Regions from separate parts of the Homo sapiens genome. Here region 1 is linked to region 2. Evidence: promoter capture Hi-C in human tissues and cell types (Jung and others, 2019). All regions are on one chromosome and are shown on one strand. The core of a region is centred on a gene start or on the middle of the fragment in contact, and the rest is flanking DNA. Distances in the headings are between cores, read along the strand shown. Region 1 overlaps LOC107984311 (a long non-coding RNA gene). Region 2 holds the start of DKK3 (dickkopf Wnt signaling pathway inhibitor 3).

Region 1 (5,978 bases), core at 877-3,376, 180 kb after region 2:
AATGTACTCATAATTAAATAACTGCAAATGAAAACAATGAAATGACATTTCACTCTTAGATTAGCAAAATTTATGGGGAAATAAAAACTCTTGTTTGAATTTGGTGGAATATGAGTTATTAAAAACATTTTAAAGGCAATATGTCAATGTATATAAAAAATTTCAAATGTGCCTATTCTTTGACCCAACAATTCTAAGATAATCCTACAGTACAAGTGTACAAAGACATATGTGTATTGATGTTCATTATAGCATTGTTTGTAATAATGCAAAACTAGAAATAATATAAATATTTGTCAGTAGGATCATGTAAATTGTGGTACACTCATACTATATAATACTATGCAGTTATTCAAATAGAATGAGGTAGAAAAATAAAAACTGTTATGGACTAAATGCAACATGATGTCTTAGACTGGATCCTGGAACAAAAAGAACATTAGTGAAACACTAGTGAAATTCAAAGTCAGACTTTAGTTAATATTAATGTACCAATGTTAATTTCTTATTTTTGACAAAAGTACCTTTGAGAGGTGAAGCCAGCTGGACTTCCTGGGTCGAGTGAGGACTTGGAGAACTTTTCTGTCTAGCTAGAGGATTGTAAATGCACCAATCAGTGCTCTGTGTCTAGCTAAAGGATTGTAAATGCACCAATCAGCACTCTGTAAAATGGACCAATCAGCACTCTGTAAAATGAACCAATCAGCAGGACGTGGGCGAGGACAAATAAGGGAATAAAAGCTGGCCACCCCAGCCAGAAGCGGCAAGCCGCGAGTCACCTTCCATACTGTGGAAGCTTTGTTCTTTCGTTCTTCACAATAAATCTGGCTGCTGCTCACTCTTTGGGACTGTGCCACCTTTAAAAGCTGTAACAGTCACCGTGAAGGTCCATGGCTTCATTTGTGAAGTCAGCGAGACCAAGAATTCACCAGAAGGAACCAACTCCGGACACACCTTGATTATGTAAAATGTTAATATGCAACTCTACTGTAAATCCAAAATTATGCAAAAATGAAAAGTTTATTTAAAAAAGGTGAGATAGAAGATCAAGATATAACAAATAAGAAAAAGAAACTTGCAGGATTGTATGTATGGCATTTGTGTACTGAAAGATGGTGTTATAAATATGTACACCAGTATAAGCATAGAAATCTCTAGAAGAATATGCTCCTCCCCCTTCCTCCTCTCCTCAGAAAAGTTTGTAGTAATTATCTCTAAGTCACTGGAATGGAAGTTCTCAATGTCGGTGGAAGTAAAGAGTTAGTTAGAATCTTCTCTTTTTCTTTCTTTTTTTTTTTTCTTTTTTTTGTTTTTTTTTTTTCAGCCAGAGTCTCACTCTGTCACCCAGGCCAGAGTGCAGTGGTGTGATCTCGGCTAACTGCAACCTCCACCTCCCAGGTTTAAGTGATTCTCCTGCCGCAGCCTCCTGAGTAACTGGGATTACAGGCACATGCCACCACGCCTGGCTAAGTTTTGTATTTTTAGTAGAGACGGGGTTTCACCATGTTGGCCAGGCTGGTCTCGAACTCCTGACCTCACGTGATTCAACTGCCTAGGCCTCCCAAAGTGCTGGGATTACAGGCGTGAGTCACCGTGCCCAGCTGGAATCTTCTCTTTTTCGTTTTCACATTAAATCATACTGTGTTCTTTTAATTCTTTTAAAATAATTCGAAGACAACAAATTAAAAGAAATAATGTATGAAAACTGGTTAACATAATGACTGACACATTATAGATGCTCAGTATATAAAAACTTTCATTTTTTTTACTGGCCACTTTGGTTCATAACTTTTTATTGTATCTCTAATGACAAACACAAGTTTTTGTAGAGTACTTACTCTTAACTATGGTCCAGGCTCTGTATGGAGTATTTTACACACTCTATCTTATTACTCCCCATAACAACTTTATGATTTGGGAACAATTATTATCCTAATTTTACAGACAAGGAAACAGGAATAGAGAAGTTAAGTAACTTCCAAAGTCATAAGGCAAATAGATAAATAATGGAACTGGGATTTAAACCTAAGCAGTCTGACTCCAAAGTCTTTCATCATAGGTGAAGCCTCAGTTGCTTCTACAGATACAATCTTTAAACCTTCTGGTTCGTTATGTGGTAACTGCAATCTACCTACAGTGGAAGAAAGTAATGGCTAATCATTTTCACTCTTTAGCAGAGTTGGACGATCTGAAATCTCTAGATCTTTCTTTAAAAATTTTAGCCAATGGGCTCTGTAGCTTGATTCTTTAAATTTTAAATGTTTCTACTCATCTAATTGTTTGGTGATTTTCACTAGACTAAATGATCCCACTTCCTCATCATTTTTTAAGAGATCTAATTGTTTAATTCTTGTAGTTTCTTTTCTGGAAGACTAACAATCTCCTTCCCTAAAAGTGAACATTTTCTTTCTTTCTTTTTTTTTTTGAGACAGAGTTTTGCTCTTGTTGTCCAGGCTGGAGGGCAATGGCGTGATCTCAGCTCACTGCAACCTCCGCCTCCCGGGTTCAGGCGATTCTCCTGCCTCAGCCTCCCTAGTAGCTGGGATTACAGGCATGCGCCACCACACCCAGCTAATTTTGTATTTTTGGTAGAGACGGGGTTTCTCCATGTTGGTCAGACTAGTCTTGAACTCCCAACCTCAGGTGATCCACCCGCCTTGGCCTCCCAAAGTGCTGGGATTACAGGCATGAGCCACTGCGCCCGGCTGAACATTTTCTTTAAGAAGGTAATTAGCAGTTGCTATCCCTTTCTTCTTCCTCTGTCTTCATCTGATAGAGCAGGTAGTGTTTTTGCATAATGCCACCTAAACTTGTCAAAGTCTTTCATGGACCAAAACATGCAAGTAAAGGAGTATCATCTTATCTTTTTACATGAGTCCTCTGGTAGAAAAAATTGAAAATGATACTTAGATGCTAACTGTTGATAAAATTTTCTACAGGTACAGATAATTAGGTCATCTTTTGTTTAAAAATATTTCAGAAATGTTATCTAATTTTCTAATGTGTTGGCAGAGCATAGGCTTTTAAACCTAATTATCATCACCATTGTTGCCCATAATCAACACTTAGATTGGATTCTTGTCGTATACATGGCCCTGTTGCTTATGAGGAATCATAAATTCCTAGCCAGACTCAAAGTCTCAGTTGATTTAACCACAAAAACTTCAAAATTTATTATGTGTGTGAGCACTACAATCATACAAGATTCTTTGGAAGATAAAATATAATAAATAAAATTTAGAAGGTAGACCATAAAAATAGATCAGAAAATGTGATGGAAAGAACAGAAAATGAGCAATAGTCATTTATCATAATACATTAATCTCCATTAAATATCTCTAAGGTGTTTGACATTGTGATAGATGCTTAAGAGAGCATAAAGTCAGTTTGGTGACTTATTGCCTGCATAATTGAATAAAGGAGATTAAAAATGATGGAGCATGTCAGAATTTATGTCGGAAAATGTACTCTGAAATTCAATTCAACAGATATTTATTAAGAGTCTTCTGACAAGGCGTGTTGCCAGGAACTATGTCAAACAGACGACTAAGAATGTTCTCTACTCTCAGGAAGCTCACAATTTAGTTAGAACAGCGCTAGCCAACATGAAAATTGGGGAAGGCACTCCAGAACTCACAGCTGTTTGAGCACAGCTTGGGCTAGACTTGAACCTTCACTCACCCTTAGCCAGGCATCTGCGTGCATTGCACAGCTTGAACAATCACACACAGAAGCCCTAGCTATGACTAAAACAAACAAGCATGATGGAAAGATAGAATAATAGATGTGCACATATAAACCTGAGTGTAGAGAAATGGATTATATGTGAACATGACAATTGAACCTCAAGATGATTGGTCAAATGTTTGAGAGAGAGAAAAAAAGGTCCCCTTTACCTATGATTGGCCCAGTATGGGTCGTATGCTTCATGTAATGGCCAAGACTAAACTGAGTGCTGATCGTCCCAATAGACACACAAGTGTGAAGACATTCCTGGCAGGCAAAAGCAACGCGGGAATCCTGGAGAAGAGAATTACAAATGTCATGCTGAGAACTTACACATTTTTTGGTTATTAGTAGAGAAATCTATTAGAAATAAATTTTGTCTTTATAAAATGTTTTATAGTAGTTTGGGAAAATTCAGTATTATTTAAGTCTACATGTAATAAGTGGAATTTGAATCTTAAAACTGTTTTCAACACACAAACTCATTTTCCAGAAAGTAACTACAATAAGCATTTTGAAGTGTAAGCTTCTGGACTACCACAGAAAGTTGTTTAGCTGTTAATTTTGGGGGCAGTGTTCTCCAATTATTTTTGACCAGATGTTTATTTCATAAATCACTAATATATATTGATTAATTTATTTATAAACTCAATACATGTCTTACTATTGTTGGCTAATGTCCTGAGACTTAACAACTTAGAGCAAAGTTCATCATTAAAGACACGGGTGGCCAGGTGCAACGGCTCACACCTGTAATCCCAGCACTTTGGGAGGCTGAGGTGGGAGGCTTGCTCTAGCTCAGGTGTTGGAGATCAGCCTGGGCAACATAGGAAGACTTCTGTCTCTACGAAAACATAAAATAAAAATAAATAGCTGGGCATGGTGGCATGTGCCTATAGTCCGAACTACTTGAGAGGCTGAGGTTGGAGGGTGGCTTGCACTCGGGGCGTCAAGGCTACAGTGAGCACCACTACACTCCAGCCTGAGTGACAGAGCAAGAACCTGTCTAAATAAATATAGTGATTGCAAATCCATATTTCAATATCTTCTTGATCGTTTCACAACGCTTTGTTTTACTGACACACTTGTCAGACTTGACAACACTGTCACAGCTTTAGCTTCCTAAGATGGCAGCTGAGGTATTGTACCAAGAGGAAGAGGAATGTTCGCTCTGCCATTTTCTCGTCTCCTTGTGTTTACAAGCAGCATCATGTTGTGGTTAAGGCCACTGACCCCAGAGAGAAATTGCCTGGGTTGCATTGCAGCCCTGCCATTGACTAGCAACATCGTTAAGCTGTCTACGCCCCAGTTTCCTCATGTTTAAAATGGGAATTAAAACAGTACTTTCCTCACAGGGTTTTTGCATGGATTAACTAAGTTAATAGAGATGAAACACTTAGGCCAGTGTCTGGCTTGTACTAAATGCCACATAAATATAATTGATCCTTGAACAAGGTAGAGTTTAGCTCCCCCTTCCCCTCCCCAGTCAAAAATTTGGGTATAACTTTTGAGTCCCCCAAAACTTGACTGCTAATAGCCTACTGTTGACTGAAGCCTTCCAGATAAATAAGCAGTTGATTAACACATATTATATATGTTAAATGTATTATATACTGCATGCATACTATATTACTTTATTACTAGAGCTATAGAAAAGAAAGTGTTATTCAGAAAATGATAACAAAGAGAAAATATATTCACAGTTCACTAAGTGGAAATGGATCATTATTAAGGTGTTCATCCTCTTCGTCTTCACCTTGAGTAGGCCAAGGAAGAGAAGAGGTTGGGTTGATCTTGCTGTTTCCAGAGTGGCAAAAGCGGAAGAAAATCCACCTGTACATGGTTCCATGTGGTTCAAATCCATACTGATCAAGTGTTGACTACATTTGATATTATTGGCATTATATTTAATATATTTAATATATATTTAATGCTGCAGTGGTTTTTTTTTTGTAAAAATCTTTTAAAGTTACTTTTCTATTTTTTGAGGGCAAATTAGTTAAAACCAGATTATGTAATCTATAACTCTGCCTCACTGAACCCTCAGTGACCCCACCTCTTTGCTGTGAGAGCTCCTCTCCACCACTTCGTCCCAGGTGACCTGGGTACAGTGTACACCAAGAGATCATGAGACATGCATGCCAAGTGGGGGAGCTGATGTCAATCCACACATAAAAGGTTAGTACATTTTTCTTTTTCTTTTATTGGTAACAAGTAAATATATATGTGTATGTATATATACATATGGACAT
Region 2 (5,315 bases), core at 1-2,500:
GGAGCAGAGCTGGCTGCAGGTGTCTGGTCCTGACCACTCCTCTATGCCACCCTTGAGGAGCTTGCTGACTTTCTCATGACGTTCTCCCATTCCAGGAGCTGCAAGTGCGTTATCCTGGCTGGAGCACGGTGTCAATCACGGCAGACTAAGGCCAGCGGTGATGGCTTGAATGCCAGGCTGGGGGCTGGGATTTTTCCTGAGGATTTCACAGGACAGAGGTTGGCTTGGAAAGACCAAGGTGGGACTGAGGAACATTCCCCCTACCCCCAACCTCGGTGGGCTGTTGCAAGCCTGGAGGCCAGAGAAGACGGGCCTGGGATGCCGCGGGCGCAGGGGCAGGCAGTGAAGGAGATGGCTGCCTTCGGTAGAGCTGGTCGCTGAGGCAGAAGAGGAGGGCGTGGGGCGTGGGGCGTGAGGTGGCCGGCGCCCCGGCTGGCCAATGGCCGGGCTGCGGCCCCTCCGCGGGGCGGGGTGGGCCTGGTGGGCGGGCGGGGCTCGGGGCGGGGGCGGAGAGGGAGCCTGGTGGGCGGGCGGGGCGCGTCTTGCGGGCTCCCTCGGGTACCGGCGCTGCCGCACCCCGCCGCGCTCCCGCACCCGCGGCCCGCCCACCGCGCCGCTCCCGCATCTGCACCCGCAGCCCGGCGGCCTCCCGGCGGGAGCGAGCAGATCCAGTCCGGCCCGCAGCGCAACTCGGTCCAGTCGGGGTGGGTGAGGGGCGGCGGCGGGGGAGGGGACGACTCTGCTGAGCTCAGCCTCTCTTGGTGGATGTGGGGCGGGGCGCTCGAGTAGGACCCGACGCCAAGGGGAGGGGGCTGACCTGTGCTTGGTCCACCCCAGGTAGGGGCTGAGAGAGGCTTGAGGTGGAAGTGGGGGTCGGGCACTCTGACCTGGTCGAGGAGGGGCTAGGGTTTGAACCGGGGACAGAGTCTAGGTGAGCTGGGGCTTGGGAGCTATTAGCGTAGAGGATCCGGGTTCGGTTGCTCTGGCGAGGGCTCCAGCATCACAGGTGAGGAGCAGAGCTCAGCTTGTGCTCGAGGATGGGGGTGCGGGGTCCTGGGGCGATCGGGGCTCGGGCTGGAGCGGGTGGGGTCGCGTCTTTTCGGGTGTAGGGGAGCTGCGTTTTCAGGGGCCTCGGTTTCCTCCCGTCTCCGGGCGGGTGCGGGAAAGAGGGGCGCCAGGGGCGGGCGGCGGGGCGGAACGGGGCGGGGCGGCGGGCCCAGCGAGGGGGGTGGTCCGCGCGCCTCTGATCGCGTTCCGGGACACACAGGCGGCGGCTGCGGGCGCAGAGCGGAGATGCAGCGGCTTGGGGCCACCCTGCTGTGCCTGCTGCTGGCGGCGGCGGTCCCCACGGCCCCCGCGCCCGCTCCGACGGCGACCTCGGCTCCAGTCAAGCCCGGCCCGGCTCTCAGCTACCCGCAGGAGGAGGCCACCCTCAATGAGATGTTCCGCGAGGTTGAGGAACTGATGGAGGACACGCAGCACAAATTGCGCAGCGCGGTGGAAGAGGTGGGTGCGCCCTGGCGGCGCGGGGCTCTGAGAAGCGCCAGACTGGGGGCAGCGAAGTCTGGGAAGGCATGGAAGAGCGCTGGCCAGGGACCTCGGGTCCCGCGCAGGGCCTGGGAAGGGCCGACAGCAGATGCGGAGTGACCTGGAGGCAGCGCACGGTGATCCCTACTCCCGCCTCGTTTTGCCTCCTTGCCAAAAAGTCTGGATCTGAGCCTGTCCACCGAGAGGCTCTGCACTGGACCCTCCCTAGGTAGCTGGGGCCACCACCTGCCTGCAGTTGGCGTCAGGCATGCCGTTGGCCTTCCCTATTGTCAGCAGAGGTTTGCAGGGCCCCTGGTATTCCAGCACTGTGGTTTCACAGAAACCCGGGACAAGCTCCAGGCATCGCCAAGTTCTAGCTTGTCCGTTATGCTTTGAGCTTGTTAGGATGCCATGCAGGGACAAAGAGGCAAAGAGCCCTGAGCTTTGCTGGCAGTCTGTCTGGGCTGTCTTGCTTCTCACGCAATGTGGGGGCAGAGAGGGAAGATGGAAATCCTAAATCTCAGCACTGTATGAGTGGCGGATGAGGATGTGAGAGGCAATACCCCCTCCACCCAACGGTGCTTCGCAGTTGTCCTGGGCTCAGGTCCTCCTCTGCCACTCAGTAGCAGGGTGACATTGGGCAAATCACTTAATATCCTGCACCTCAGTTTCCTGTGAAAACTAAATGTCATATGTGTGGGCACCTGGCAAATAATAGGTGCGCAGTATTTAGCAACTATTATCAGATACCACGTACCTTAGCAAAGCTTTGCCTAGCTTCTGCCCTCCATCACCTCCAGGTCTAAACACTGTGGGTGGCATCTTGTTCTGTCCTCTGTGATGGTCACCCACGCATGCCCAGGGCTACCTGGGCAGGAGATGTCACTGGCCCAGCCCTCTCTGTCCAGGTGCGGGGAGCTGTCCCTGGTGCCTGGGGTGGGTAGACGAGGGCGCTGTTGGGCCCAATCTGTCTGTAGCCTGTGTCTATAGAGAGGAGCCAGCCGTCCTAGTGAAGGAGGCAGCAGGAAACCAATGTCCAGGCTGGTTGGCCCCTGGTCTGGCTTCACATCCCTGCTGTCTCCAGCTTGGTATCCCCCTTGGGCAAAGCCTTAACTGCTGGCCCTTGTCTCCAGGGGGAAGTTGCTTTCTCCCCGCAGCCCTTTGTAGTTTGGGGCTATTTCCCCTCCCACTCCACAACAGTTAGCCTGTGGAGTTTGCAGTGAAGGGGACACTGGCTTGGGAGGCAGTGAAATGGGCAGCTGTCCTTGAATATCCACTGGACAGGCCCAGATCCCAAGACCCATGATCTTTCTGTTTCCTGTGATTGCAAAACAATCATGACATGGAGCAATTAAAGGGTGAAGGGATTCAGATAGGCCCCAATGTCTCTTAACTCTGAAGCTTCAAATTAAGTGGAGTTTGCGATGCCTCTGGTTCTAGGGCAGGCCATCTGCTTTCCTTATCCAGGTTCTAGGACTTTCCCTCCTGCACACAGATTCCCGGTAAGACTGACTAAGTCACCTCTATGTTTTTGTGCCCACCACTGTTCAGAAAGTCTGCAGCGTGGTCCTCTGACGTTAGCTTCTGCTGAGGGAGGAGAGAGAGCAGCAAGGGCCTCTTCAGTCTCTTCTTGAGCAGAGCAGTGTGGGGCCCTGCAGGACCTAGTGACGGGGTCTTCTCCATGGGCGTTATCCAGACTGGATTTTGCCAAGACCCCAGCTTTCCTCCCTCTAGATGTGGCTCTGTGTAGGTTGGGGGGTTGAAGTTTGCCACCAGAGGAGATGTGGGCTGTCACTTCTACCCCACTCTTTCCCAGAGGTGTCCTCGCTGGCAGTGGGTACAGGATGAGAGAGGTTGAACACCATGGCAGGAGAAGAGGCAGTGGGGACTGATCTTCCCTCATCCAGTCCCTGCTCTGCCACTTACTGGCAGTGGCGTTCCGAGTCTGAAGTGGAGAAATGTCCACCTCTTAGGGTAAGGTGAGAATTAAATGAGATGCTGCAAGTAAAGCAAATCAGTGAGTTGGGCAGCTATCCCTGAATATCCACTGGTCAGGTCAAGAGCCCAAGATCCATGATCTTTGTTTCCTGTGATTGTGAAACTATCATGACATGGAACAATTAAAGGGTGAAGGGAGTCATATAGGCCCCAATGTCTCTTAATTCTGCAGCTTCACATTAAATTGAGCTTGTGATGCCTGTGGTTCTAGGGCAGGCCATCCGCTGACTGCCTAAAATGGGGTTAAGTAAAACACGTGTAATACAGGTAGCTTCATTGTGAGGTGGCTGTAAGGATGACATGATGGTTGGTTGTAAATAAGTAACAGGTATCATTATCATCATATTACTAGTAGCAGTATGAATGATAACAAAACACCACCAGTGTCTGATAGATTCTCAATAGAATCTATCTTTTAAAATATCTTAAACCATTAAAAATTAATCTTAAAATACTAAAAGTATCTTTTAGATATCTTCAAAAATAGAATACAATAGATTGTTTATAGACTGTGGTTATTAGTATTAACTTTTTATGGAGACTGCCAGAATGCCCCTTAAATCTCATAGACACAGGATAATTGGTATTTAGTCATTGTTCAGGGGAAAAATCAAAAAGGACCTGGGCCAGATGCATTATTTGTTTACATAGTTGCATCATGAATCTCCTTTCAAGTAACTTCCTGGCATTTTCAATGTTCCAGCTGAATCAAGCTGTTGAAGTTTCTTAAGGGGAAGGACAAAGCAGCTCTACTTGTACGGTCATTATTGGAAGAAGCATATCTTCAAATGGCTTCAATCTGGGATATTCCTACTTTCCTGTGTTACTATTCTATATGCTACCAATCAATGTATTCTGAAGATATAACCACTCTGTTTCTCTTCCCCTCATGGCCAGCTCTGTAACTCACTCATTTTAGAATGTTCTTACTGCCTCACCTATTTCTAGTATAAGTGCCATTTTTAATAGCATTCACATTCCTCCTCTACGAAACAGCTCCTTTTGCTTCAGACTTAAGTTTCTCTTGCTAGTGGCAATAATAGTTGCGGTTGAAATTTCCATTGTAAACTATACTTTTAGTTCATGGTGCCATTTAAGAACCGTTAGCTCATTCTGTTGAAATAACCAGTGGCTGAGCTGGGGGGAAAAGTTTTATAAAAAGACTATCTGCTCAGCCCAGAGCAAATTCTAGGTTTGGCAACTTGTCAATTATTTGAAAGCCAAACTGATCCCGATGGGAATTTTAAAAACACTAAAACATTCTCTTCTTCTGGGTGGGTCCTCTCCAGCACCTTCAGTCTTCTCTTCCCAGCTGCGTTTTTTTCTATCACTAACCAGAGTGGTAACTGAGGGCAAGGTCTCTTGCTTTTAAGGAAAGTCATTTTCTTGCCCATTCTGTCTTCTATCTCAGCCCCATTTCTTCTCCCCTTTGTTGGCAAGCTCTTCAAACACATGATATCAACGTTTGCTCTTCCTGCTTCTAGCTACCCATTCCCTTCAGAACTCTGGCAAAACAAACTGGCTTCTTTTGAAACTGCCTTCTTAAAGGGCAACGGGATAAAAACAGCTGTGTATTTCATCTTTGCTGTGTGGCAGATAGTGTATTTCATGCCTTAATTCTTATATCTACTGCATGGTCCTTAATTCTTATATCTACTCAACAAAGTAGGACATCCCTATTTTACAAATGAGCAAGCTGAGGTTTAGTGGGATTTGGTATCTTGCCTAAAGTCATACAGCTACTTTGTGGCAGAGCCAGGACTTGAACCCACCTTGTCTGACTCCAGAAT

Evidence for each region. Contacts are between HindIII fragments. The study calls those that stand out against the background at their distance.
Region 1: a fragment that was not itself captured here is called in contact with the fragment with the promoter of DKK3 in region 2 in 1 of the 25 tissues and cell types used here (IMR-90 fibroblasts).

The regions. Positions count from the first base shown.
Region 1 is chr11:11,826,298-11,832,275 of GRCh38, reverse strand. LOC107984311 (a long non-coding RNA gene) reads left to right here. Exons shown (of 4, transcript XR_001748134.3): 3 at 5,774-5,904. Among named protein-coding and RNA genes, the nearest start is that of USP47, 13 kb to the left of the region's middle. The HindIII fragment of the contact is 6,108 bases long and covers 1-5,180 here.
Region 2 is chr11:12,004,561-12,009,875 of GRCh38, reverse strand. DKK3 (dickkopf Wnt signaling pathway inhibitor 3) reads left to right here and starts at 1,250. Exons shown (of 7, transcript NM_001018057.2): 1 at 1,250-1,506. The coding sequence starts at 1,294. RefSeq lists an enhancer at 2,063-2,998. The HindIII fragment of the contact is 8,758 bases long and covers 1-2,611 here.